7 separate regions of the Homo sapiens genome follow, and all the other regions are linked to region 5. Evidence: promoter capture Hi-C in 16 types of primary human blood cells and fetal thymus (Javierre and others, 2016). All regions are on one chromosome and are shown on one strand. Each heading gives the region's core, a stretch centred on a gene start or on the middle of the fragment in contact. The rest is flanking DNA. Distances are from core to core; before and after follow the strand shown. Region 1 overlaps FGF12 (fibroblast growth factor 12). Region 2 overlaps FGF12 (fibroblast growth factor 12). Region 3 overlaps LSG1 (large 60S subunit nuclear export GTPase 1). Region 4 overlaps FGF12 (fibroblast growth factor 12). Region 5 holds the start of OPA1 (OPA1 mitochondrial dynamin like GTPase). Region 6 overlaps FGF12 (fibroblast growth factor 12). Region 7 overlaps FGF12 (fibroblast growth factor 12).

Region 1 (3,616 bases), core at 446-2,945, 1.0 Mb after region 5:
ACCCACAACCAATTATCTAATTTTTCTCATCATAGACTTGTTTGGCCTAATCTTGAATTGCATATAAATGAATTTTTTCAGTCTATACTATTTTGAAACTTCTTCCTAAACAAAATTTCTGAGATCCATCATGTTGTTGTGTATCACTAGTTAATTATTTAAAATTGCTGAGTATAAGGTCTATTGTCTAAGTATTCCATGGTGTATTTATTTGTTTTTATTTTGGTAGACATTTGAATTATTTTCAGTTTTTTACTAACTTGAATAAAGCTTCTGGAAATATTCATGTACAAGTCATTTTCTTTTTTTTTTCTTTCTTTTTTTCTTTATTATTATTATTATTATTTTGCCATGTTTTAACTTCTCTTGTGTAAAAACCCAGGAGCAGAAGTACGGGGTCATAGTGTAAGCTCTTGTTTAACTTTATAATGAACTGGGAAACAAATTTGCAAACAATCTGATACTATTTTAAGTGACATTTCTAGAAGTATTATTTTCTAATCGTTTGTAACATAGTACACTCCCAATGTATGAGAGTTGCAGTTGGTCTGTATCCTCACAAATAAATAGTATTTTCCAGGCACGGTGGCTCACGCCTGTAATCCCAGCACTTTGGGAGGCCGAGGCGGGCGGATCACAAGGTCAGGAGATCGAGACTATCCTGGCTAACACGGTGAAACCCCATCTCTACTAAAAATATAAAAAATTAGCTGGGCGTGGTGGCGGGTGCCTGTAGTCCCAGCTACTCAGAAGGCTGAGGCAGGAGAATCGCTTGAACCCAGGAGGTGGAGGTTACAGTGGGCTGAGATTGCACCACTGCACTCCAGCCTGGGTGAAAGAGCGAGACTCTGTCTCAAAAAAAAAAAGAAAAGTGAAGTTTCTCACCATCATTTTAATTTTCATTTCGCTGAAGACTAATGATGTTGATAACTTTTCATGTACTTATTGGTCATTTGTATGTCCTCTGTTCTGACGTGCCTGTTCAAATATTTTGCTTATTTTAAAATTTGTGTTGTCTTTTTATTATTGATTTGCAGAATGTGTGTTTGTGTATATAGCTGTGCGTGTGTTTGTGTGTGTGTATATATGGCATATATATATGTTGGTTACTCCCCGCTTCCCCTTTCCCTTATAGATTTTCCTGTTCTGGGCATATCAGATAAATGGAGTCATGTAATATGTGACCTCTTGTGACAGTCTTCTTTCACTTAGCATAATGTTTTCAAGGTTTGCCCATGTAGCATGAGTCAATACTTTATTCCTTTTTGTGGCTAAATATTTTGTTGTATGCATGTACTATATTTTGTTTATTCTTTTTAATACTCTGCTAGGTTTTGTTTGCTAGAATTTTATTACTCTTTCACATCTATGTGTATGAGAATATTAATTTGCCTTTTTTTCAGTAATAGGTTTGTTAGATTTGTGACAGGTTTTATTTCTTCCTCTAATTTAGGAAAGAGTTTGTTAAAATTAGCATTCTTCTTTCTTTAATATTTAATATATAGTTCAGCAGTTAAACCAACCAGGCCTCCAGCTTTCTCTGTGAGAAGGTTTTTAATTTACAAATTAAATTTATTTACCAGGCAGAATTATATTTATTTTCTTCATTTTTCCTTTCAATTTTTAATTCACGCTTTTCAAGAAATTAATCCTTTTACCTAATTTGAATATACTAACACAAGGGCATGTATAATATTTGCCCATAGAATCTACAATGACATGCCATCTTTTATTCCTAGTATTGGTAATTACTGTTTTTTCTTTTTTCATCAACAGTACCTATGTTAGGGTTTAACCATCTTATTACCTTTTTTTACAAAAACACTTTGGCTTTTAAATTTTCCAATATTGTTTGTTTTATATTTTGATTTTTGCTCTTTATTATTTTTTTATTTATTTGAGTGTAATTTTCTCTACTTTTTCTATCTTCTTAAAGTAATCCTTAGATTATTGATTTTAATTTTTTTCAAATATAAGAATTTGAATCTCATATATTTCTAAGACTTAGTTAAACTGGATCATACAAATATAGAGTGATTTGTTTTCGTGAACATACATTTTCAGAAATTATCTAATGTGCCTTGTTGTTTCTTCTTTACCTTGGGTGATTTACAAATGTGCTGTTTCGTTTCAAAATATTGAAGATTTTCTTCATCTTAGTGAATTTTAATTCAATGCCATTGTGGTCAGAGAACATACACTGTAAAATTTCAATATTTTTAAATTTATTGCTACTTATTTTATGGTATATCATGAATGAATCTTGAACATTTTTAGCATTTGAAAGGGATGTGTGTTCTGCAATTGTTGCAGTAGTGTCCTATAAATATCAATTAGGTTAAAATGGTTGAGATAGTGCTGAAATCTTCTACTTACCTACTGATTTTTTTAATTCATTAACGAACTTTAGTTTTTAGAGGAGTTTTAGGTTCCCAGTAAAATTGAGTGGAAAGTACAGAGAGTGTCTCTATATGTCCCTGTCCCCAGACAGACACAACCTCCATTACTATCAACATCTCCCACCTCAGTGGCACTTTTGTTGCAATCTATTGACACATCTTTTTTTTCTTCTTTTTTTAGTTTTATTATTATTATACTTTAAGTTTTAGAGTACATGTGCACAATGTGCAGGTTTGTTACATATGTATACATATGACACATCATTATTAATCAGTGTTCTACATTATGGTTCTTGCTTAGTGTTGTACATTCTATGAGGTTTGAAAAATGTATAATAACATATATACACCATCATAGCATCGCACAGAATTGTTTCATTACCCTAAAAATCCTCTGTGTTCTACCTGTTTACCCCTCCCTATCCCTACCTCTTGATAACCACTCATCTTTTTACTATTCCCATAGTAACATTGAGCATGTTTTCATACACCTATTGACCATTTATATGTCTTCTTTGGAGAAATGTCTACTCAAGTCCTTTGCCAATTCTTAAAACATTTTAAAAAGTGGGTTATCTGTTGGTTTTGCTATTGAGTTGAAGGGGGTCTTTATATATTTTGGAATTAACTCTTCCTCAGATATATGATTTGCCAATATTTTTTCTCATTCTTTAGGTTGGCTTTTACCTGCAGATTGTTTTCTTTGCTGGGCAGAAGCTTTTTAGTTTGATGTAGTCCCATTTGTCTATTTTTGCTTTTGTTGTCTGTATTTTCAGCGTCAAATTAATGAAATCCTTGTGAAAAGCGATATGAAGATGTTCCCTAATGATTTATTATAAGAGTTCTATAGTTTCAGATCTTGCATTTAAGTCTTTAATCGACTTTGAGTTTATTTTTGTTTATGGTGTAATATAATGGTTCAATTTCATTATTTTGATGTGGATATTCCATTTTCCCAACACTATTTGTTAAAGAGACTATTGTTTCTCCATTTTGTAGTCTTGGCACTTATGTCAAAAATCATTTAACCAATATATACATATGGGTTTGTTTCTGAACTCTTTATTCTATTCCATTGATCTATATATCTGTCTTGATGGCAGTACCAGATTGCATTGATTATGTTGCTTTGTAATATGTTGAAGTCAGGAAGTATGAAGCTTCCAGCTTTATTCTTCTCTCTCAAATCATTTTGGCTATACAGTGTTTTGTTGTTG
Region 2 (3,371 bases), core at 166-2,665, 1.1 Mb after region 5:
GTCTCCCAGGTGTTTTTAGTTGGACATCTGAAATAAAGAAGTTGACTAAATCTGCATTATTAAGACTCCATGTGACTTTCACTGGGTGATATGTTTCAATGACACCTGACTCAGATGGAGCCTGGGACTTTGGACAGGTGGGCATCTGCTCAGGGACCCATCCTACTGCTCTGTCTTTTGAGATAGCTGCTACTGCTGCCTTCTGAAAGGATGATGGTGTTAGACTCTAAACATAGATGGCACTGATATAGTCTCCTGTGGCCTTGGAAGTGGAATAATTCCTTTTAGACACTGGTGAGGAGAAGGAGGGAGGCCCAGGCATATTGCCTCTTCAAAAGGGAATATATTTCCTGTATCCAGAAAAAGAAGAACTAAAAGAAGGGAAGAATTTGGCTTTGGATAAGAACACTCATCTGCATGATGTTTCACAGTGTTTTTCAAACAGCATGCCTCTTTTAGGCTTCCATATTTTGATCAATATGTACAACCGGAGATTTATTTTGCCTTAGTGATGTCTGTTCTGCAGAAAAGTGGACTGAGCAGGTTCTAACCAGAGAAAACTTTTAGTAAGAATTAAAATATATAACATAACATCAGGACAACACCAACAGTATGTTTCATGCTTACTGGAATATGAGAAACTGTTTCTTTTGAGTTTATGCAAGTCAACAGTTACACTGAAACAGTAATCCAATTCTGAAGACCAATTAAATACTATGATAGTTTTTAAAAGAATTTTCTAAACTTCATTTTTCTTTCAGCCGGTGTTCACCTTTAACTACTTCAAGTATGCTTTTCCACAGTCTAGTATTTGAAAATTTTATCTTAGTCACAAGAAAACTGAAAATGATTAATAGATGATCAAAATATTTACATGAAGAATGAATACAGTAGACTCTTTGAAAAGTTATACTTAGGGAATGATCAAGAATCTTAGATATTATAAAACAAAAATTATACATTTGTATAATTCTTTACCTTTACATAATATTTTAACATGTTATTTCATTCAAACCCTAAATGACTATTATGGGGTAGGAAGATAGTACAGTATATACTATCTACTAATTATGGAGTAGGAGGATATATAGTATATAGTTTGGAGTTGGGCCAGGGGCTGGATTCTAATCCTACTTTATCATTTATTAGCTGTAAGACTATAAGTAAATTACTTAACCCACATTAATAAGACTCACTTTTCTTATCAGTAAAATGGAGATAACTGTTGTACCTGCTTCTTGGGTTGTGGTGATAAGTACCAACCTGGTGGTTGGAAAACGGTAATTGCTCAGTATATATGTTCTATGAGAGGTTAGGTAGGGCAAGATATTTGCTTAAAAAGGTCAAAAGACTTGCCCAGGGTTACAGAGCTAAAATGCAATGAGATTTTAGGCCTAATGCCTACCAAGGATATTTTGAATTTAACGATTCTTAGCAAAGTGAAATTCTGGCTTACATTTTTCATAAGCCAGTGTGCTTATCAGTCACACAAAGAGGTAACCTATGGATGCCCATGTGGGAAAGCAATTATCTCCAGAATTGAAACAAGTTGTATTTTTAAGTGATGTAAAGTACAACCACTTAGCTCCTGATTAGGAAACACCAACGTTCTTGTTGATGACAGTTTTCTATTGTGTCATGAACCTGAAAGAATAATTGATCAAACAGCATATTAAACTATCATTATAAATATGTGGTTTCGAGTGAAGTCATTTTTAAATCAACCATATGCAATTTTCTGCTACTAATAATTTATAGCTAATTTTTCATGCCAGATCAAATTACCAATCAAAAGTGTGTATTTTGGGGCCAGACTTGACTCTTCCCCTCTCTCCACTCCCATTCTCCATTTCAATAGCTGCTATACTTACAGAAACTGGAACTACAATATAAATGAGTCTAGTGTTTAAAAATAAATATAGTTATACAATCATTGGGAATAAAGTATCTTTATACTGGTAATAATATCGTACCATTGTTTCTACTTATTCTTCATTTATCTTAATACAGGTAACTAAAAATTGTCTATAAACTATACTGCAATAGAATTTTTCTTGTTATTGGGAAGACTTTGAGCCAGATATCGTTGGTTTGGGCCTCCAGATCCCCTCCACTCTCCCACCTCTGCTTTCTTCCTGGGGGTCTCCCCTATGTGAACTCTTTGAGGGGCATGAGTGTACTCTGCTGCTTGTTGGGTTTGTCCAGTGGGAAGCGCTGGCAGGAGATAGAGTGAAGAGAGAAAGCAAAGTCAGTCTTTATTCCTCTAGTTTCTTCCCTGTGAAGTGACCTCTGGCTGGCCATGGCAGAATGTCACCGCTGCCTTCTGGGTAGTTTACACTGTACAGCTTTCTCCCCTGGATTTGGGTAGCCCCTCTCTCTTCTTTTTCCGTTAAGCTAGTACAGCTCTGCTGCTACTAGCCCTGGGTTCCTACCTGCTCCCTGTAGTTTCTCTACACCTCATTCTTCCTTCTGTAATCACTTCTTTTGTAAGTAAATATTCCTCAAATTATCCAAACTTAAGAATGCCATATCCTTTTGGGATCTAGTCTGATATCAACTTAATCATCCGAAAGCATTTATCAGATACTTGCTTGTATATGGCTCCAATCTTGTTACTCCTCCTCTTAGGAGCCATTCAATGGCTCTCTATTGCCTTCAGAGTAAAGATCATCCAAACTCATTTACAATTTGGCTATAATCAGTCTTTCTTTACTCCCACTAGTGTCCTCCAGACAACCTTTCTTCTAGCAAAACTAGACTGCTAGGTACTTCTCTGATCCTCAGTGTCTGACTTCAGGGAAGCCATTTTGCTTCTTTGTTCTCAGATCCCAAAGTTTGAGCTTCTTTCCTGCAATTTTGCATTATGTTGTATTTGTGGAGGTAATTCCATGAAAAGTCACAGTGGGGATTAATACCAACAAAATAAACAGGGGGCATATTACAGATGGCTGTGAGGCTGTTGGACTTAATGCCATTGATCAATTCATTCATTAATTATTTATCAAGTACTTCCCATATGTTGTGGTAAAATGATGAGTAATTCATCAGGGTTAATGTAGAGTGGTGGTGGGAGTCAGGCTTTAGACTCAAACAATTGGGATTCACATTTAGATTCTGCCACTTTTTTGTTAGAGACCTCTGGGCTTCATTTTTTTTTCATCTGTAAACAAAAATAACAATATTTTCCTCATAGGTAAGAACTAAATGGTAGTCACTGGGCAGAATCATTTAGGTAAATGGATGCAGAAAAAAGTTTCAAGATTGTAGCTATGATTATTTTTATGTTGTCCTGCCCTTTAAAATATAGAGCTCACATGTGATCTCTGAAGCCAATGTTTAGGCCATGTATGGAAAGTCTTTCGGGTGTCATC
Region 3 (3,522 bases), core at 747-3,246, 1.1 Mb before region 5:
GTTTTGCAGGAGGGACGCCTCAGCCGGGTTTTGAAGGATGAGTTGGAGTTTCTGCCAAGCTGAGTAGCAGGCCCTCCTCCTGGCAAGGCCCAGAACACAAAGGTAGGAGAAGCTTGAAAGAAGAGTTAGTGTGGTGATGAGGCGTGGAGTGAGAATCTGAAGAGTCTTCAATGCCAGGTCTTGAGTACGTTTGGGTTTTGCCCTAGAAGCCACTGAAGTGCTTGGAACTTCCAGAGCAGGAAAAAGACAAAACGTATTTTTGTATTGATTTGTTCAAAGAATGGATCCTCCAGAAGCGGTTGGTTACTGCCAGAAATATAAAATAATTCAGATCCTTGCCTCATCCTTGCGAAGCACCCCCTAGTGGTTTAGCTCAAAGATAAATCATTGATTTTTCAGGTGTGACAAGACCTAATATTTTACTAGGTTATAGAAGGATCTTTAAAAAAATGAATGAAGTGATTTGGCTTGTGTTCATCATTCTAGTCGTTATTTTCACCATTCATTCCCCCGGGAATGAATGAGAACATGTTGAGTGCTAAGATCGTGTGCTAAATTTAGTTAAATATGTCCCTGGAGCTAAGTAAGCGTGTGCCACTGTCACACCAGCTGACTTTCATCCATATAGTCTGCAGAGTAAACAGCATGGAGTGCTTATCAGTATTCATCAGGTCAGAGTTACTCTGGACATTAGATTACTGGTAATTTTTATTAGCTTTGAAGCAACTTGTTACTAATGAAGCCTTTTAGGAAACTGTGGGAAGATTGAACATGAATGGTAAAGAATTGGATCCTAATTCCTTATTTTTGCTGATTCTATGCCCACTTAAACTTTTGGCCCTTAATATTTATTTAGGAAATTCATTCATCATTCAGTTATTCATTTTTAGAGACAGGGTCACACTCTGTCACCCAGGCTAGAGTGCCAGTGGTGTGATCATAACTCACCAATTCACTACAGTCTCAAACTTCTGGGCACAAATAATCCCCCTGCCTCAGTCTCTTGAGTAGCTGGCATTACAGGTGCACACCATCAGGCCTGGTTGTTTGGTTTTGTTTGTTTGTTTTGGAGAGACAGGGTCTTGCTGTGTTGCCCAAGCTGATCACAAACTCCTGGCCTCAAGCAATCCTCCTGCCTTAGCCTCTTGAGGAGCTGGGGTTACAGGCACAAACCACCACGCCTGGCAATTTTTTTTTATTTGTATCTATACTAAGTATATAGCTTAGGGTGATGGTTATCAAACTCTGGGTTGTGTCTGGAAGTCAATTTAGTGGTCTGCAGCTAGCTGTTTTGTTTTGTTTTTATTTTTTCCCCAGCAAGATAGAGAAATATCAGAATGTTGCATGTAATAGGGTGTGGTTTCAGTATTCTTCTATTGCCATTTTACTGTACTGAACGGTACTTGAATGCTTGTATCATTATATGTACATACACCTTTGGGTCACTATGTAAAATGTATTTCTTATTGTGGGATTATATCAAATAAAGTTTTGACTAATTTTGACTAGCACAGTCAGACAATCTGGGTTCAAGTTCTACCTGTGCCATTTAGATTTTGACTATAGGCAAGTTATTTTATCTGCTGAAGCCTTAGTTTCATCATCAGTAAAATGGAAATACAGTAAAATTCACCTCAAAAGATTTTGAAAATTAATGAAATGGTGAAAGGGAACTGCCTATTGTGAGGTAAGAACGTGTTCCTTTAAACATTAACTATAAGTAGTATTGATTCTAAAGGGACTACAACCACCCTCAAGACCATAGACTAGTTGCAAGGAATTTTAGAGCTTATTGGATGCCAAGAGCAGAAGAGAGCAGCTGTATTTATCACCCTGTGTTTTTTCATAGTTGCACACAAGTGAACTCAATGATGGCTATGATTGGGGTCGTCTTAATCTTCAGTCAGTGACTGAACAGAGCTCCCTTGATGACTTCCTTGCTACTGCAGAACTTGCAGGAACAGAGTTTGTAGCTGGTAAGTTGTTTATTGCTGAGTGCAGGTGAGACTGTCACATTTCCATCTGGGGCTGAGGTTTTTTTTGTTTTTTGTTTTGAGATGGAGTCTCGCTCTGTCACCCAGGCTGAAGTGCAGTGGCGTGATATCAGCTCACTGCAGCTCCGCCTCCTGGGTTCAAGCAATTCACCTGCCTCAGCCTCCCAAGTAGCTAGGACTACAGGCACGCACTGCCACGCCTGGCTAATTTTTGTATTTCTAGTAGAGATGGGGTTTCACCATGTTGGCCAGGATGTTCTTGATCTCCTGACCTCGTGATTCGCCTTCCTTGGCCTCCCAAAGTGCTGGGATTACAGGTGTGAGCCACCGTGCCCGCCCTGAGTCTTGAACAATGAGTAGATGTTCAAAGGACAGATGAGATAAGACCTTTTACACAGACAGGCAGAGGACTCGAGCCCAGATGTGAAGCAGCAGCCAACTTTGTTCAGAAAATGGCTAGAAGTTTGGCTTTGCTGGTGCAGGGGGCGGGATGTGATGAGCACAGGTGCTGAGGAGGTGGGCAAGGGCCAGATTCTGGAGAGAACAAAGGTTTAAGGCTTTACAGGGCTTTAAGCACGTGTACAACATGATTTCAGATTTCATTGTTTAGTGTTTTTTGGGGGGATGTGTGGGTTCCAGCTTTAATGAGCTACACAATTGGCAACTAAAAATTGTATATAGTTATAGTATATAGTGTGACGTTTGGTTATATGTATATATTGTGAAATGATTACTAAAATCAAGTAATTAACGTATCCATCACCTCACATTGTTTTTTTGTGTGTGCGGTGAGAACAAGATATATACTGTCTTAGCAAATTTCATATTATTAACTAATAAATGTGTTATTATTAACTATGGACACCAGGCTGTACATTAGACCTCCAGAACTTATTCATCCTGCCTCAGTAAAACTTTACCGTTTGACCAGTATCCTCCTATTTGCCCCACTCCCTAATCTCTGGTAACCACCATTTTCTCTCTGCTTCTATGAGCTCGGCTTTATTCCACGTATAAGTGAGATCATGTGGTATTTGTCTTTCTGTGCCTGGGTTATTTCTCATAGCAGAGTGGTTCATTCATATTGTCACAAGTGTCAACATTTCCCTCTTTTGTAATGCTGAATAGTATTCCATTGTATACTACATATACCACGTTTTCTTTATCCATTCATACGTTGATGGGCATTGAGGTTGGTTCCATATCTTGGCTCTTGTGAATAGCGCTGCAGGGAACATGGGAGTGCAGGTATGTCTCATGGGTACATGAGATTTCATTTTTTAAAAGATCACTGATGAATTTTAAGGAAGCAAGATGAGTTAGGAGACTGTATCACTTTAGTCTAGCAAAATAGGCCAGAACTGAAATACAGGTAGTAGAAGAAGGGAGAAAATAAGAGGAACAAGAACACTTAAGGAGCTAGAGTAAACCAGACTTGATGGAGAGGGTAGTGTAAGTGAAAAAGAGTGAAGGGACAAAAATAAACTCCTGGGTTTCACAGTGAAATAACCACTTCACCCACTAGGAT
Region 4 (3,482 bases), core at 898-3,397, 1.1 Mb after region 5:
GATGGAGTTAGAAAATAAATGTCTACCATGAGTTGACTTATGTTAAAATTTTATTCCCTAAAACCCCAAATGAAGTCATTCCACATATACATATCCTTTTTCTATCTGCATTTTGGAAGAACCTCTTCTTTACAAATATCATGATACTGCTATGTGGTTTTACATGGTTTGCATCCCTCCTCGGCAATCAGAATCACTCTTCTCATCTGTGCTATCATTACCACAGGCTTCACATTTCTCTATCCATCTCAACATTGTTTGTATAGCTATCTATTATTTCCATCCCTATGAGATAGTGAGTCCACTGAGGGCAGGGTTATATTTAAACAAAATATGCACTCGCTAAATGTGCAGTGAATAGAAATGAATATTGTTTAATTCATTTAACAGGTGGACTTAATAGTATCTTATAAAATTTGATGAAAGTTTTATTTGGAGAGCTTGGATAATACGAAAGCTAAAAGAGGTTGGGTGAATCTTTATTATCAGACTTGGGTAGGGCTCTTTATTACTGTTTTGGTGTCTTTAATACTCAAGATTGTTGAAATTCCAGAAGGGCATGTGGGAATCAAACATGGTTTATAACAATCACATGGAAGTAACTATTTTTCCCAATGTCACCTAAATGTAAGACTTCCCATTTAAAAATGAATATATAGTTTAAAAGTAAAATAAGAGTAGCACCTCAGATTTATGGCACTTTGGAAATTTCTTATCATTTCCTCATGCATCCCTTCATCCTAGAGGATAATGATCATCAATACTTGAACTCCTTTTGGTACCAACATTCTACTGTTAGGCTCTGAGAAGTTATGATGTTCACTTAGGTCTTCTGATTCTCAAGGCATCAAGACTATATCCTGTTGCAACTTAGAAATAACATTTCTAGTCCCTGTGTGTCTCCTTCACATTCTGGATTTTTGTATTTTAATTAAGCTTAGTAATAAATATGTTTTAAAAATCAAAGCCAAATTTATATAACTGATTTTTGTTGTAATATGTTATTTATTTTGAAGAATATGCATATGGTACATTTTTAAAGTATAAAATGGAATGCAGTCAAAAGTAGGTCTCCCTCTCTGTTGTGTTCTGCTACCTAATCTTTCTCCCTCAGACGACAACTGATGCCAATTTCTTGTGTACCTTTTCAGAAAGAGTCCATGAGTTTATAAACGTGAACGTATGCACATTCTTATTTTCTAGATTACACAAATTGTGGCAAACTATATTTATTCTTTTATATGGTTGTTAAATTCAGTAATAAATTTCACAGATCTATTCATATTAAAAAAATTGTAGCACATTACTTTGTGGGAATATACCAAAATGTAAGTTAGTTCCTTATTGATAGATTAGTATCACTACTATCAAATAGTGTTATCAACAATGTTGTACCGACTACTTTGTGCAGTTGTCACTGTTGTATGCTTATGCAACTATATCTAAAATAACTAAATAAGAATTTGCCAAAGGGGGAATTGGCTTTTTAAAGTTTGAAGGTTAGAGACAAATAGCTATCCATAAAGGCATTAATGCTTACTTTTACCAAGAATGTATGAGGGTTCCCATTTCCTTTATATTCTCTCTAGTACACCAAGTTATCAAACATTTTTATCCTTGAAATCTTATACGGTATTAATATTTGATTTTGGATTATATATATTATTTCATGTGTGAATCTGATGACTTTTCAAATGTTTAAAAGTAAGTTATATCTTCTATCTAATTCATATCCTCACTCTAAATTCTTTCTGAGCTATTGTTTTTAAATGTAATACAGAATTACAAATATTTTTCCCAATTGGAAAATCACAAAAAAGTCCCCCCCGTTTTTTTTTGTTTTTTTTTTTTTTGAGACGGAGTCTCGCTCTGTCGCCCAGGCTGGAGTGCAGTGGCGCGATCTCGGCTCATTGCAAGCTCCGCCTCCCGGGTTCACGCCATTCTCCTGCCTCAGCCTCCCGAGTAGCTGGGACTACAGGCGCCCGCCACCGCGCTCGGCTAATATTTACTATTTTTAGTAGAGATGGGGTTTCACTGTGTTAGCCAGGATGGTCTCAATCTCCTGACCTCGTGATCCGCCCGCCTCGGCCTCCCAAAGTAAAAGTCCCCATTGTTTTCATTTCATCAATATTTAAATAAATTATTTCTTACATATTCTAGGTACCAAGATATACAAACATAAAAGATATGAACATGAACACCAAAATTTGGAGGCGAAAAGGCTCATAGTCTCTTGGGGGGAAAATATACATGTGCAAGCTGAATAAAATAAATCCTATAATAGAGGAATTGCAGTGTGCTGTGGGAACTACGAGGAAGCTGTGACTGCTTTGGGGGAGGCGGGGAGATAGGAGGGAAAGTTTACCAGAGAGATCGCTGTGGCTTCTATGGTAGGTCTCAAGAAATGTGTATAATTTATAGGGTCAGAGACGTGTTCAGGTGATAGGAGAAAAGGGTGGAAACACCCATTTTGTATTGTGCCCCTCCTTTGGTAATGAGTTTTGACTAATGAGCAATTGCTTTTTTTCCTTGACATTCATAAGTATTTATTATCCTGAACTGATTGACCTCATATTTTGCAAAATAAACAGCTCATATTTTACTATGATGATTTAAAAACATTTTCCTTCCATTTGAATTAGATAACTCATCTTTAAAGTTTTCTTATGGCTAACGAGCTCGTGTTTATTCAAGACAACTTGTTACAGTGCTATTAGAAGAGATGGAAAACGTCCAACTGCAGCCCCAAATCCTGGAGGTATCTATTTGAAGATAAGAAAAAAGTTCTCAAACAAATGACAAAATGTTCAAACTCAATCATAATTAGAGATATGCAAATTAAAACATTACAATCACACTGACATAAATGAAAAAGTAGGACAATACATTATGTTGGTAAGGCTGTGGGCAAATAGGCAATCATATATTGCTGGCAGGAATCTAAATTCATACAAGCCTTCTGGAGTAAAATTCAGCAATACTTAGCATAAATATCTATACACATACTTTTCGACCCAGCATTTCTTTTTCTAGGAGGCTACCCTGGAGGCACACAGAGTGTATTTCTCACAGGAGTATTGGTTAGCAGTGTTTTCTACAATATGAAAATGCTACACACAAGGTTACTTATTGCAGCATTGTTTATAATAGTACAATACTGGAAACAATCAAAAGACCACTACATAGAAGAGTGTGTGTGCATTTGTACAAAAGAAACACAGGCAAGATAAACTAAAGAAACCAGTTACCTATAGGCAGTGCATGGGAAATAAGTGGAAAAAAAGAGGGAACAGGAACTGGCCAGGAGGGATAATGAGGGAATAACGATTATCAAGCTATACTTTTTGGTAAAGCTTTGACTCTAAGTACCATAGTAACGTTTCACGCACCCAAATAAAAAAAATAATTTAAGTAAACTAAATCTAGTTAAATAATTAAAATCAATGTGTATGGAATATAAGTTTACAAATGAATAACCAAAC
Region 5 (3,719 bases), core at 989-3,488:
TGATGCAAAATAGGTTTCCCCCAGAAATCTACTCTCTTGTTCATTGACTATCACTTTTAATCAATATATCATTTCCTAATATGTAATTCTTTTAAAAATAATTTTACACAATTATTTATTGCACCCAAATGTTAGTATTGATCTTTTCACATGTCCATGAGCATGTATTTACATATGTATGCCCAAAGAAATGCTTATGCTCTCATCTGTTAGGGAGCAGGAATTTAACTGTATTCTTTCACAACATGCAAAGGAACTATAGCAAAAGAAAAACTGCAGAGCTTGGGGCTTCTGGCTTCCCACATCTCTACTTCTTTAGGTAGCTAAACTGTGCCATCACCAGGAGACATTTTTAAGCCATGACTCAATGGCATCCATGGTAACTTTAGAAATAATTTAGCCCAATGACAGCCAATTAAATAAATACCACTTATAAATCAGTTTGTTTTAAAACTCCGTCTTTGTAGTTCTTCTTATACATCTTAATTGCTCCAACAGAGAATGCTATCTTCTGCAGTCTTTTCTCTTTTTATTTAAAGAAAATCAGATATGTTTCCTCACTAAATATTGAGAAGTAGAAATGCAAGGGTTGTAAATAACTTACTTTAATACCAAGGGCTGTGAACTTACTCAAAGACTAAAATTCCATGAGATTAAAAATACCTATGCAATAATTCTAACTGACTAACACTGTTAACTATTGTTATCTCATCTAGTTCTGTATTTTGGACTCCAGTTAACCTATATAAAACAAATTGGGCCGGGCGCGGTGGCTCACGGTTGTAATCCCAGCACTTTGGGAAGTCGAGGAGGGTGGATCACATGAGGTCAGGAGTTCGAGACCAGCCTGGCCAAAATGGTGAAACCCCCTCTCTACTAAAAATACAAAAATTAGCTAGGCGTGCTGGCGCGTGCCTGTAATTCCAGCTACTCCGGAGGCGGAGACAGGAGAATTGCTTGAACCTGGGAGGCGGAGGTTGCAGTGAGCCGAGATAGCGCTACTGCACTCCAGCCTGGACGACAGAGCAAGACTCCGTCTCAAAACAAAACAAAAACAAACTAACGAATGCATTCCATTCCTTATAAACACGATAAATTATCTATACCACTTAAAAAGGTCTGGAAAAAATTCAAAACAACTGCTTAGAAGTTAATTCAGGAAAACCACGTTTTTCCAATTTTGCTTGATGCATCTTACTTCCTATCAAATGCCTGCAACAATGAGCTAAGCTTGAAGGTATCTAATGATACTAGAACAAAATTTCCTATAAAATCCAATTTAATCTCATTACAATGCATATAGTAACGCACAGAAATGAAAAGATTTCTATGATTTTCTATTTAGAATTAAACCACCCCAGGGCAACAATGATTGAGATTAGAAAGGTGGTGCCACGTTCACGACCTTGCATCAAAAAGTAAGTCTCCCTCCCGAAACACAGAAAAAAGCTGCTATTGAAAGGGCATCTCGAATCACCGTCTCTGACACCGTGTGCGTCATTGCTCTAGTTCTGACTTCTATCAGCGGGCTAGGGAAAGAGACGGACGCCCCTTTCCCCGATAGAAGAGCCCAGGTACCTGAAGATGCAATGTACACATGGCGTGGAAATGGAAGAAAAAGAAGACACCGAGAGTTAGGAGAAATGTGGAGAGAGGTGACTCATGGACAGAGCCAAACCTGGCAGGGAGAGGACAGAAAAAAGGCAAAAGAGGCAACCAGAGACAGACAGAACACTGAAGACACAAGGGTGTAAAGGGCAGAGACAAAAGGACAATAGAGACGGGCCAAGATTGAGAGGCGTCCAGAATTTTCGGGTTGGGTAGGGCCAGAGAAAAGGGCCAGTATTGAAGCCGGCTCCGAACGTAAGCCCAGCCAGGGCTCCTGTCATTCTGGGTCCTCAAGAACATCTGGGAATTCTCCAACTGCCGTCGGCCTGGCCTGAGAGTCACCTGCACATTTTTGGAGATAGAGATAAGACAGCCCCACTCTCAAGAGGCCCCAGAATTAACGGGGCCAGATTAGAGCCTGCACTTACCAGGCCACAGCGGCCCGACGTAGTCGCCACATCCCGCCGGCGGGGAGGTCACGCAGGCGCCGAGACGGCCACGCGGGAGCCCCCGTGTGAGCCCCAGCCCGGCTCCCGGTCCAGGAATGACCCAGGAAGTGGCCCTCAGCAGCAAGGGCACAGAGCCGCGGCCGAGGCCCTCCCAATGGCGCATGGACTTCCGCAAGAGCCTGACAGGCACCCGTACTCAGTCCGTCACGGAAACAACCACTTCACCCTTTCTAGGCGGGCAGCACGAACGGTCCGCGGAGGACCAGCGCATGCGCACAGTGCGTCGGGAACGGACTGGAGCAATCCATCGCCTCTCACGGGGCCCCGCCCTCTTGCTTCCGATTTGGAATTCGGAATTAGCCTTGCAGGTTAGAGATTTGGCCAGGGGAGGGAGCGAGAGTTGGGCGGGAACGGGAAGGGCTAAAGGCGTGGAATGAGAATTGATGAATGCTCACCGGGAGCCATGAATTTATTAAGAGTTGGATATTGAGGGAGCACGAAGGAAACTAGAGAGTGCAAGGTGAAATACAGTAATAGCGTACTACAAACTAATGCTTGCACATTTGCCTACCTTCTTTCTTGGGCATCTTTGTTTGAAAGCACTTTCACATCGTTAGGGCAATCATGGGAGGTGAGAAGCAGGACGAAGAGTCATGGATAGGCTAAGTCCCTTAGAATCTCTGAGGATCAGATGGGAAAGGGACTTAAATCAGTTAGGCCAGTAACGGGTTTGGAATAAGCTTGTGTGGTTTATAAAAGGCGTCAAAATGATTTGTTCAACTGTTTCTTCCGGATTTTAAGCCCACCAGTTTGTTGAAATGGTCCTCGTCAAGGCCTCCACCAGCTCCCTATTGTTTGTGGCCAGTGAGCCTGCCACAGCATTCAGTTCAGATGCCTAGTGCTGAGCACTCCTTCAACTACTTTTTCTTTTGGCTCTCTGGCCATCACATTCTCCTTTTTCCCTGGAACTGCTGCTCCCAGGCTTCTTTGATGGCTCCCCTCCCAAATTTCTCAATGTTGGACAGGCCCAGATCTCAGCCATCTTGAGCTCCTCTCCTCCATCACTTTAAATACTCCTTTCCCCTTCCAACACAAACCTTTTATGTTTTGTAAGGAAACCAGGGCCCGTAAAAGGGATGTGGCCTGTGAACGGTTATGAAGCCAATTTTTAGGGACTAAAATAAAAGGGTCCTGTGCATCCTCTTTACTTCAGGGACCTTTCACCTCCTCCCCACTACCCGCCCCCCACCCATGCCACACACATACACAAATACACAGAGCATAAAGACAATTCCTTTTCCCTTAATTGTCAGAATCATAAGTCTGGACCCATGCACTCACAATACCACCAAGAGTAGACCTAGCCATTGATAGTAAACTTCCCAAATGCAGGACTCTTAGAATTTTCTTTATTTATTGTGGTGACTGTTTCAATGGCAGGTCCAGAGAGCAATTTGCTGTACCAACCTGTGCAAACTGTAGATCTTCCTGGGATTGTAGGGTTGTACAAAAAGTGTCTTTGTAATCGTTACTTCCTTGTTATTTTAGAAAATAAAATAAGAGAAACCAAGAGACTTTAACAACAACAACAAAAAAGAAAAATTAGGGATAAAAGACTTTAACCATAAAAAAAGGAGAAACTAACCACCATCACCATTTATA
Region 6 (3,478 bases), core at 105-2,604, 1.1 Mb after region 5:
TACACACACATATATAATATAGGTTTATATATATCATTGTTGTGAATTGTGGAAAACAGCTTTCATAAAAACAATTATATACTGCATGATGTAAGTATCTTGGGAAAAAACATTCATATTCTACTACTTGTGATGCAAAGTAAGACTGATTAAAATGTTTATGTACGGACACTTTATATATTCACATACATATATATAAGCATACATAGATATAAATGTGTATGTTGTTGTATAGCTTTGTTCAGTATAGCTTTGTTATTAGGTTTCTTCAGAGATTAGGATGATTTCTGGATTATGGCTAATGAGACTGTAGAAAATGTGTTAGTGGCCAGGTGCAGTGGCTCACGCCTGTAATCCCAGCACTTTGGGAGGCTGAGGTGGGTGGATCACGAGGTCAGGAGTTCAAGACCAGCCTGGCCAAGATGGGGAAATCTTGTCTCTACTAAAAATACAAAAATTGGCCGGGCGAGGTGGCGGGCACCTGTAATCTCAGTTACTCAGGAGGCCGAGGCAGGAGAATTGCTTGAACTTGGGAGGCAGAGTTTGCAGTGAGCTGAGATCGTGCCACTGCACTCTAGCCTGGGTGACAGAGGAAGACTCCATCTCAAAAAGAAAAATGTATTTTATATATATATATATATATGCATAGGCCCTCCAATTCTTCCCACAGCACTTTCAAGTATGTAGATAAGCCCTTGAGTTTTACTAGTGTTTCTCTGTACTACAACTGTGTTTCAATCTGTGTCCCACATATTAAATAAATCACAAATGAGAGAAGGAATAGAATGCATGATACAGTAGGTTGTACCATTGTATTCCATGCAGATCACAAAGCATTTGCAGGTGGGAAGGAGGAGATTATATCTGGTCTTGGGAATCATGATTTTCAAGGAATATTATCACACTAGAATGCATCTAGGGGATAATGACCAGGATATTAGTAGGATTTGGAATCATGACTCAGAAGGAACAGGTAAAGACTAAAAATATTTAACCTAAAGAAGAGAGATTGAAGTAGGATATGATGGTCTGATGATTTTGAGGAAGTAGAAGTAGGTTTGACAGATTTAGTTTGAAAAGCAGCTCTGTGCCAACAGGAAGTACTATTGTAGAGAACACAATGGATGTTTTGGCTGCTTATCAACTTTGCAGTGACTGTTATTGTACAAACAGATGCTAGATGACTGTAGGGATATTGCAGAGGGAGTTAAACATCTGATATGAAGCAGAAATAAATGACCTATGAAGTGTCTTCTAGCTCCCATATTCTGTGTCAAATCTAAGATGTTACGAGAGGAAGAGCTAGTGAATTTTCTGAGCTCTAATGGAGACTGGAGGGGAAGCTACAGAGGAAGACAGAGATGCAAGACATACTTGGTTATGCTAAATAGTAGAAAGTATTTCAGAAAGTATCTAGAAACATGAAACTTGCCATTTGATTTCTGAAGTGTTTAGATAAATCTCTAGGTACGTGCTGTTCTGTCATTCTCTTCTGATCCAAGGAGTCAGAACTGTGTCCTTGGTATATAGCTAGTTCTCTTCTAAATAACAGAAAAAAATCATCCTGTGATAGGGTTTGGATCTGTGTCCCCATCCAAATCTCAGGTTAAAATGTAATTCCCAGTGCTGGAGGTGGGGCCTGGTGGGAGGTGATTGGATCACGGGGGTGGTTTTTCCTGATTGAACACCATCCCCCTTGGTGCTGTTCTTGCAACAGTGACTTCTCCTGAGATCTGGTTATTTAAAAGTGTGTGGCACCTCCCCCTTTTCTCTCTCTTCCTCCTGGTCTGGCCGTGTGAATTACTTGCTCCCCCTTTACCTTCTGCCGTGATTGTAAGTTTCCTGAGGCCTCCCCAGAAACCGAGCAAATGCCAGCATCGTGCTTCCTGTACAGTCTGTAGAACTGTGAGCCAATTAAACCACTTTTCTTTATAAATTACCCAGGCTCAGGTATTTCTTTATAGAAGTGCAAGTCCTGACGAATACATTCTTTGAGGCCTTCTTATGTCTTCCTTTGAGTGGTAAAATTTGCTATAAAATAATAAAACCCTTAGCACATAGACTTGGATAAGTGCATAAATTGGGTGGAAGAAGCAAGAATTTAATTTATGGGCCACTTAGTTAAGAAGAAGTCCATTTGACATACTTAACAGCTAACTGTGCTCCTAATGCAGAGTTAATGTTTTATATGTAGACTCACAGATTGATGTTGCAGAGAGAATCTTTAGAGATAATTTAGTCCTTTCACAGATGAGCAAGCTGAGGTTCAAGGAAGAAATCTGCTAAAGGCACACAGTCTCAGCACCTAGACTGAGACCCTGGACTCCTGCTGTCATTGGCCAAGGCATACTCTGACTCTTTATATTTCCATTTGTCTCCTAAATTTGTAATTCCCATGATTACACATTGAGATGACTATTTCTAAGTTTTCCTAAAAATAAGGGTGGATTACTTGAGCCCAGGAGTTCAAGATGAGCCTGGCCAACATGGTGAAACCCTGTCTCTAAAAAAAAAAAAAAAAAAAAAAATTACAAAAATTAACCAGGCATGATAGCACATGCCTGTGGTCCCAGCTACTTGGGAGGCATCATCACTTCTTATCTCTACCATCCTGTGTATAAATTGGAAAAATTTTGGAACTGACCCAGAGGAAAGCACCATTAAGGAGGCTTTTCTCACACCTAGTGACATGTGAGGAGCAAATATCAACTAACACAGTAGCCCAAAACTAGAAATTCTTGCACCTCTTGAAGAATTGTGTTATATCGGTGTGATCCTTTCTCTTTTAATCAACGTATCTAAAAATTAATTAAGCTTTGTCCTAGTAATGGTGTCTGTAAAATCACAAGTTTAGCATGCTGTTTTTTCTACTATAAAAATAATTACTTTAATATAACCATACTTTTTTTTAACAGTTTCATCTGTGTGTCAACTAAGATAATTTTGTATACCGTGCTTTGGGAATTGCTGAGGAAATGAGACTGTTTCAAAAAACTCTGCAATGTGTAATAATAATTTCTTCTTCTCCACCCTCCCCATCTGACTACTAATATCTCAGTAATTTAAGAGAAAAAAACATCAATCCCTACCTTTGCGTGTGTGTGTGTATGTCATTTTTATATATTTTTTTCTTTCTCCATAAGGGTGGAGGAAATAGGAAAGAACTGGAAACTAATTTGTTAGAAACATGAATGAATCAGGTTACAATTATATATTAACTAATGATATGAATCTTTTGGCTAGAAAAAGTGATTAAGAAAATGTGCAAAATAATTATTTCATTCCTTCTTAAGTATTGATCAGGTGTTTACAAATTTATTCTCATTAGATATGTAAGATACAAACAAAGTGTCCTTTATAAAGTTTTTCTTCCTGCGATGCCACCAAAAAGTCCATACAAACCTAGATAAACATTCCAAATTCAGTTTAGGAGATTTAAGTCTGTAGTATGAATACTCTTACATGATGAATGACACTC
Region 7 (3,662 bases), core at 967-3,466, 1.1 Mb after region 5:
GGTGCACCAAATTCTCACAAAATCACCACTAAAGAACTTATCCATGTAACCAAACACCACATGTTCCCCCCAGACCTACTGAAACTAAAAACAGCAACAGCAGCAACAACAAAACTCATCCCTGGGCCCCACCCTGAGCAGTGTAATTGGAATCTCTAAGGGTGGACCCAGGCATTGTGTGTTTTAAAAACTTCTCACGTGCCTCTAATTTGTAGTCAAGAGTAGAACCACTGATCTAAGAGTAGGAGTAGAAAAAAGAGGGTAGTATGGCAAGGTTGGAGAGCTTCACCAGTGAGCCGGGTTTGGGTTGGGAACACTGGCAGGAGTCATAGTATGGACGATAATAAAGCATGTTGTTTTGCAGGTAGCTTTGTTCTTAATTTAAAAAAACAAAAACAGAAACTAACCTAAAAAAAGAACAAAACAGATGAATACCAGCTACTCTGATTTAAGTGAGTTAAGGGACTAAATCCTACCCACAAGCTCTTACTCTTCCATCATCCTTTCACATGATTCCCTGTCATGCCTAGAGCTTCTGGAAGCAGAGTTCCGAAAGCACCCATCTAGGTGCCAGCCACTGTGCTGGGCTGGGAAGGTGTCGGGTGGTTTTTGGGAATCAAAACGCACGACTGTTAAGTGCAACTGGCAGCTCATAGGATATGTGATGTTAACTTTTGGGAATGGCCAGGTAAGCTTGAAGAGTTCATCCCCAAAAGATAAAACCATAACCAGTTGATGGAAACAAGGTATGTCTTTTATTATATAATATTTTGATAATTCCTTTGAACAACGACAACAACAACTTTTTTTTTGAGACAGAGTCTCACTCTGTCACCCAGGCTGGAGTGCATTGGTGCAACCTCAGCTCACTGCAACCTCTGCCTCCCAGGTTCAAGAGATTCTCCTGCCTCAGCCTCCCAAGCAGCTGGGACTACAGGTATGTGCCACCACACCTGGCTAATTTTTTGTATTTTTAGTAGAAATGGGGTTTTGCCACGTTGTCCAGGCTGGTCTCGAACTTCTGGCCTCAAGTGATCCACCTGCCTCAGCCCCACAAAGTGCTGGGATTATAGGCATGAGCCACCGCACCCTGCCAACAACAAAATCTTCTATCACCCTAAAGTAACAACTTTGAACAGCTTGGTCTGTTCCTTTCTAATGCCTTTGATATTATTTTCCCTCCTCTATACCTGGGGATTTATTATAACTACAGTTTTCCAGCTTGCTCTTTTCACTTGACACAATAGCATGAGCATGGTTTCATATCCCCACAAACTCTTCGTACATCATATTTTTAATATCCCTGAAAGCTTTTCGTAAGCCATTACAGTTGTGTAGCTTCTACAGAGTGCTTCTCTTATATGGCTGCATATTTAAATTTCTTACATTATAAATCAGTTATTTGTATAATTAATATATATCATTATCATATGAAACTTTATACATAAAGTCCTTTTTAAAATGTATTAAGTCTACTGTAGGCTTTTAAATCAAAAGTTAGGGGCATTTGTACCTAATGTCCTCTCAGTGAACTGTCATATTAAAGAACCTTGGTAATGCCTTCTTAACTATCTGAGAGTTCTTAACTTGCCAATAACTCTGTGTCAGTCTATTTTCTGTTGTTTATAACAGAATACCTAAAACCAGGTAATTTATAAAGAAAATAAATTTATTTCTTACACTTATGGAGATTGAGAAGTCCAAAATTGAGGGGGCATATTTGCTGAGGACCTTCTTGCTGGTAGGGACTCTCTACAGAGTCTTGAGGTGGCAAAGGGTATCACATGGCCAGGGGGCTGAGCATCCTGCCATACTAACTCAGATCTCTCTTCCTCTTCATGTAGAGCCACCAGTTCCTTCCCATGATAACCCATTAAATGCATGAATGGATTAATCCATTCATGAGTCAGAGCCCTCAAGACCCACTCACCATTTAAAGACCTCACCTCTCAATACTGCCACATTGAAGATTAAGTTTCAACATGAGTTTTGGAGGGTATACTCAAACCATAATAATCTCCGTCCAGAAGAATTTATACTCCCACTGTTTTATTGACATTAGAAATTCTTAATAGTTTCAGTGTTTGTTAATTTTATTATTTTAATATACATTTCTTTATTACTAGTGAGTTTTAAAAACATGTTTTAAATTTCAAAATGAAACAAGCCATATATTTTATTTGATTCATTTTCTTATCATCCAATAATCATTAAGTAATAATGTGTGTTTTTTTTTTTCTTGTGACAGAGTTTCGCTCTTGTTGCCCAGGCTGGAGTGCCGTGGTGCGATCTCAGCTCACTGCAACCTCCACCTCCCGGGTTCAAGCGATTCTCCTGCCTCAGCCTCCCGAGTAGCTGGAATTACAGGCACGCACCACCATGCCTGGCTAATTTTTTGTATTTTTAGTAGAGACGGGGTTTCAACATGTTGGCCAGACTGGTCTCAAACTCCTGACCTCAGATGATCCCCCTGCCTTGGCCTCACAAAGTGCTGGGATTACAGGTATGAGCCACCGTGCCTGGCCAAGTAATAATGATTTTTAAAAAACATCTTCCCCACACTTCTGCTTACACACATACTTCTGTTTAGGGTCAGATAACTGAAAAGTGAATTCAGTTATAATCTCAGTTATATAGCTTGTAGGAATGAGAACATAAAATTTCTTTAAATTAAGAAATAAAAACCACATCAGATAAAAATACTGATTAGGATTTGATAGATACTAGTTTATAATTTACCTTATAAATATGATGGAATTCCAGTCACTATTAATCCTTCACAGGAATTTTGTACTCTTCTCTTACTTTAGGGTATTTAACCTAATTTGGGTATGTTCTATAGTGCTCACCATTTTTGATATCACAGTGCCAATATTTTCAATTGTCATTATAAATTAGGCAAATGTGTTCCATGAAGATTCTGTTTAACTTTCTTTTTGATGATCTCAAGCCTGAATGTTTTGAGCTGGAGGTGTGCATGTGGATCATTTTTTTGGCATGTCTTTAAGCATGTTCCTCCCAGTGTAATTCAAGGTATATTTGTTATTCAAAAATAAATGTTTTACAATGTTCATTTACAAAAATCCCATTGTTAAATGATTGCATTTTCTGAATAAGCTTCAGCCTGTGAAAAAATGTGTCCTGTATGTTATATAGGTTATCACATTGAGTAAACATTACTTGAAACAGATCATGGATTATAGATTTTAAAACTGGCCCCCATATCACTTAGCACAAACTGTGAGCCATACCACATGCTTAATGAATATATGTACTCTGGATAAAAAAGAAAGGTGCAAACACTTAGCAGTACCGTATGGCAGGAAATACATAGGAATTAAAAATGCTTAACTTTTTGCTCCAGTTCAGTTAAAGTGATTGTGAGAAATTCATTTTAACTCTCTAAGCCCCATGATTCTTGCCCTAACCAGCTTAGAGTGCTCTTGAAAGTAGCAAATTAAATAATATATAAGAAAAAAGTTTCCAACTGTAAGGCACTATCTAAATGCAAGTAAATGCAAAGTGGATATATATATATATATATATATAAATATATGTGTGTGTGTGTGTATATGTATATATTTGTTGTTGCTGTTGTTGTTTGTTTTTGTTTTGTAAAGGGGTGAGTGTGGAGCTACAGAGGGGAGATTCGGAAAGCGTCT

What was found. The method cuts DNA at HindIII sites, captures the fragments that hold promoters and counts their contacts. A CHiCAGO score of 5 or more calls a contact.
Region 1: a contact is called between a fragment that was not itself captured here and the fragment with the promoter of OPA1 in region 5, in 1 of 17 cell types (endothelial precursors). The highest score is 5.1, in endothelial precursors.
Region 2: a fragment that was not itself captured here is called in contact with the fragment with the promoter of OPA1 in region 5 in 2 of 17 cell types (naive B cells and total B cells); the score reaches 9.6 in naive B cells.
Region 3: a fragment that was not itself captured here is called in contact with the fragment with the promoter of OPA1 in region 5 in 1 of 17 cell types (activated CD4 T cells); the score reaches 5.4 in activated CD4 T cells.
Region 4: a contact is called between a fragment that was not itself captured here and the fragment with the promoter of OPA1 in region 5, in 1 of 17 cell types (total B cells). The highest score is 5.7, in total B cells.
Region 6: a fragment that was not itself captured here is called in contact with the fragment with the promoter of OPA1 in region 5 in 2 of 17 cell types (total B cells and naive B cells); the score reaches 8.7 in total B cells.
Region 7: a fragment that was not itself captured here is called in contact with the fragment with the promoter of OPA1 in region 5 in 1 of 17 cell types (naive B cells); the score reaches 6.5 in naive B cells.

What each region holds. Positions count from the first base shown.
Region 1 is chr3:192,558,620-192,562,235 of GRCh38, reverse strand. All of the region lies in intron 2 of FGF12 (fibroblast growth factor 12), which reads left to right. Among named protein-coding and RNA genes, the nearest start is that of FGF12-AS3, 44 kb to the right of the region's middle. The HindIII fragment of the contact is 2,846 bases long and covers 273-3,118 here.
Region 2 is chr3:192,476,106-192,479,476 of GRCh38, reverse strand. The region is part of intron 2 of FGF12 (fibroblast growth factor 12); the gene reads left to right. Among named protein-coding and RNA genes, the nearest start is that of FGF12-AS2, 37 kb to the left of the region's middle. The HindIII fragment of the contact is 8,441 bases long and covers 1-3,371 here.
Region 3 is chr3:194,668,463-194,671,984 of GRCh38, reverse strand. LSG1 (large 60S subunit nuclear export GTPase 1) reads left to right here. Exons shown (of 14, transcript NM_018385.3): 2 at 1,850-1,976. Among named protein-coding and RNA genes, the nearest start is that of LSG1, 2.0 kb to the left of the region's middle. The HindIII fragment of the contact is 3,764 bases long and covers 115-3,522 here.
Region 4 is chr3:192,520,569-192,524,050 of GRCh38, reverse strand. All of the region lies in intron 2 of FGF12 (fibroblast growth factor 12), which reads left to right. FGF12-AS3 (FGF12 antisense RNA 3) reads right to left here. Exons shown (of 2, transcript NR_185499.1): 2 at 2,653-2,762. Among named protein-coding and RNA genes, the nearest start is that of FGF12-AS3, 5.5 kb to the right of the region's middle. The HindIII fragment of the contact is 2,417 bases long and covers 939-3,355 here.
Region 5 is chr3:193,591,727-193,595,445 of GRCh38, reverse strand. OPA1 (OPA1 mitochondrial dynamin like GTPase) reads right to left here and starts at 2,238. Exons shown (of 31, transcript NM_130837.3): 1 at 2,037-2,238. The coding sequence starts at 2,068. It also overlaps a transcript of ATP13A4 not described here. RefSeq lists enhancers at 1,680-1,759, 1,273-1,924, 2,360-2,409, 2,460-2,529, 1,925-2,576 and a silencer at 1,990-2,139. The HindIII fragment of the contact is 1,567 bases long and covers 1,233-2,799 here.
Region 6 is chr3:192,492,007-192,495,484 of GRCh38, reverse strand. The region is part of intron 2 of FGF12 (fibroblast growth factor 12); the gene reads left to right. Among named protein-coding and RNA genes, the nearest start is that of FGF12-AS2, 21 kb to the left of the region's middle. The HindIII fragment of the contact is 2,925 bases long and covers 1-2,816 here.
Region 7 is chr3:192,460,570-192,464,231 of GRCh38, reverse strand. All of the region lies in intron 2 of FGF12 (fibroblast growth factor 12), which reads left to right. Among named protein-coding and RNA genes, the nearest start is that of FGF12-AS2, 53 kb to the left of the region's middle. The HindIII fragment of the contact is 1,807 bases long and covers 1,313-3,119 here.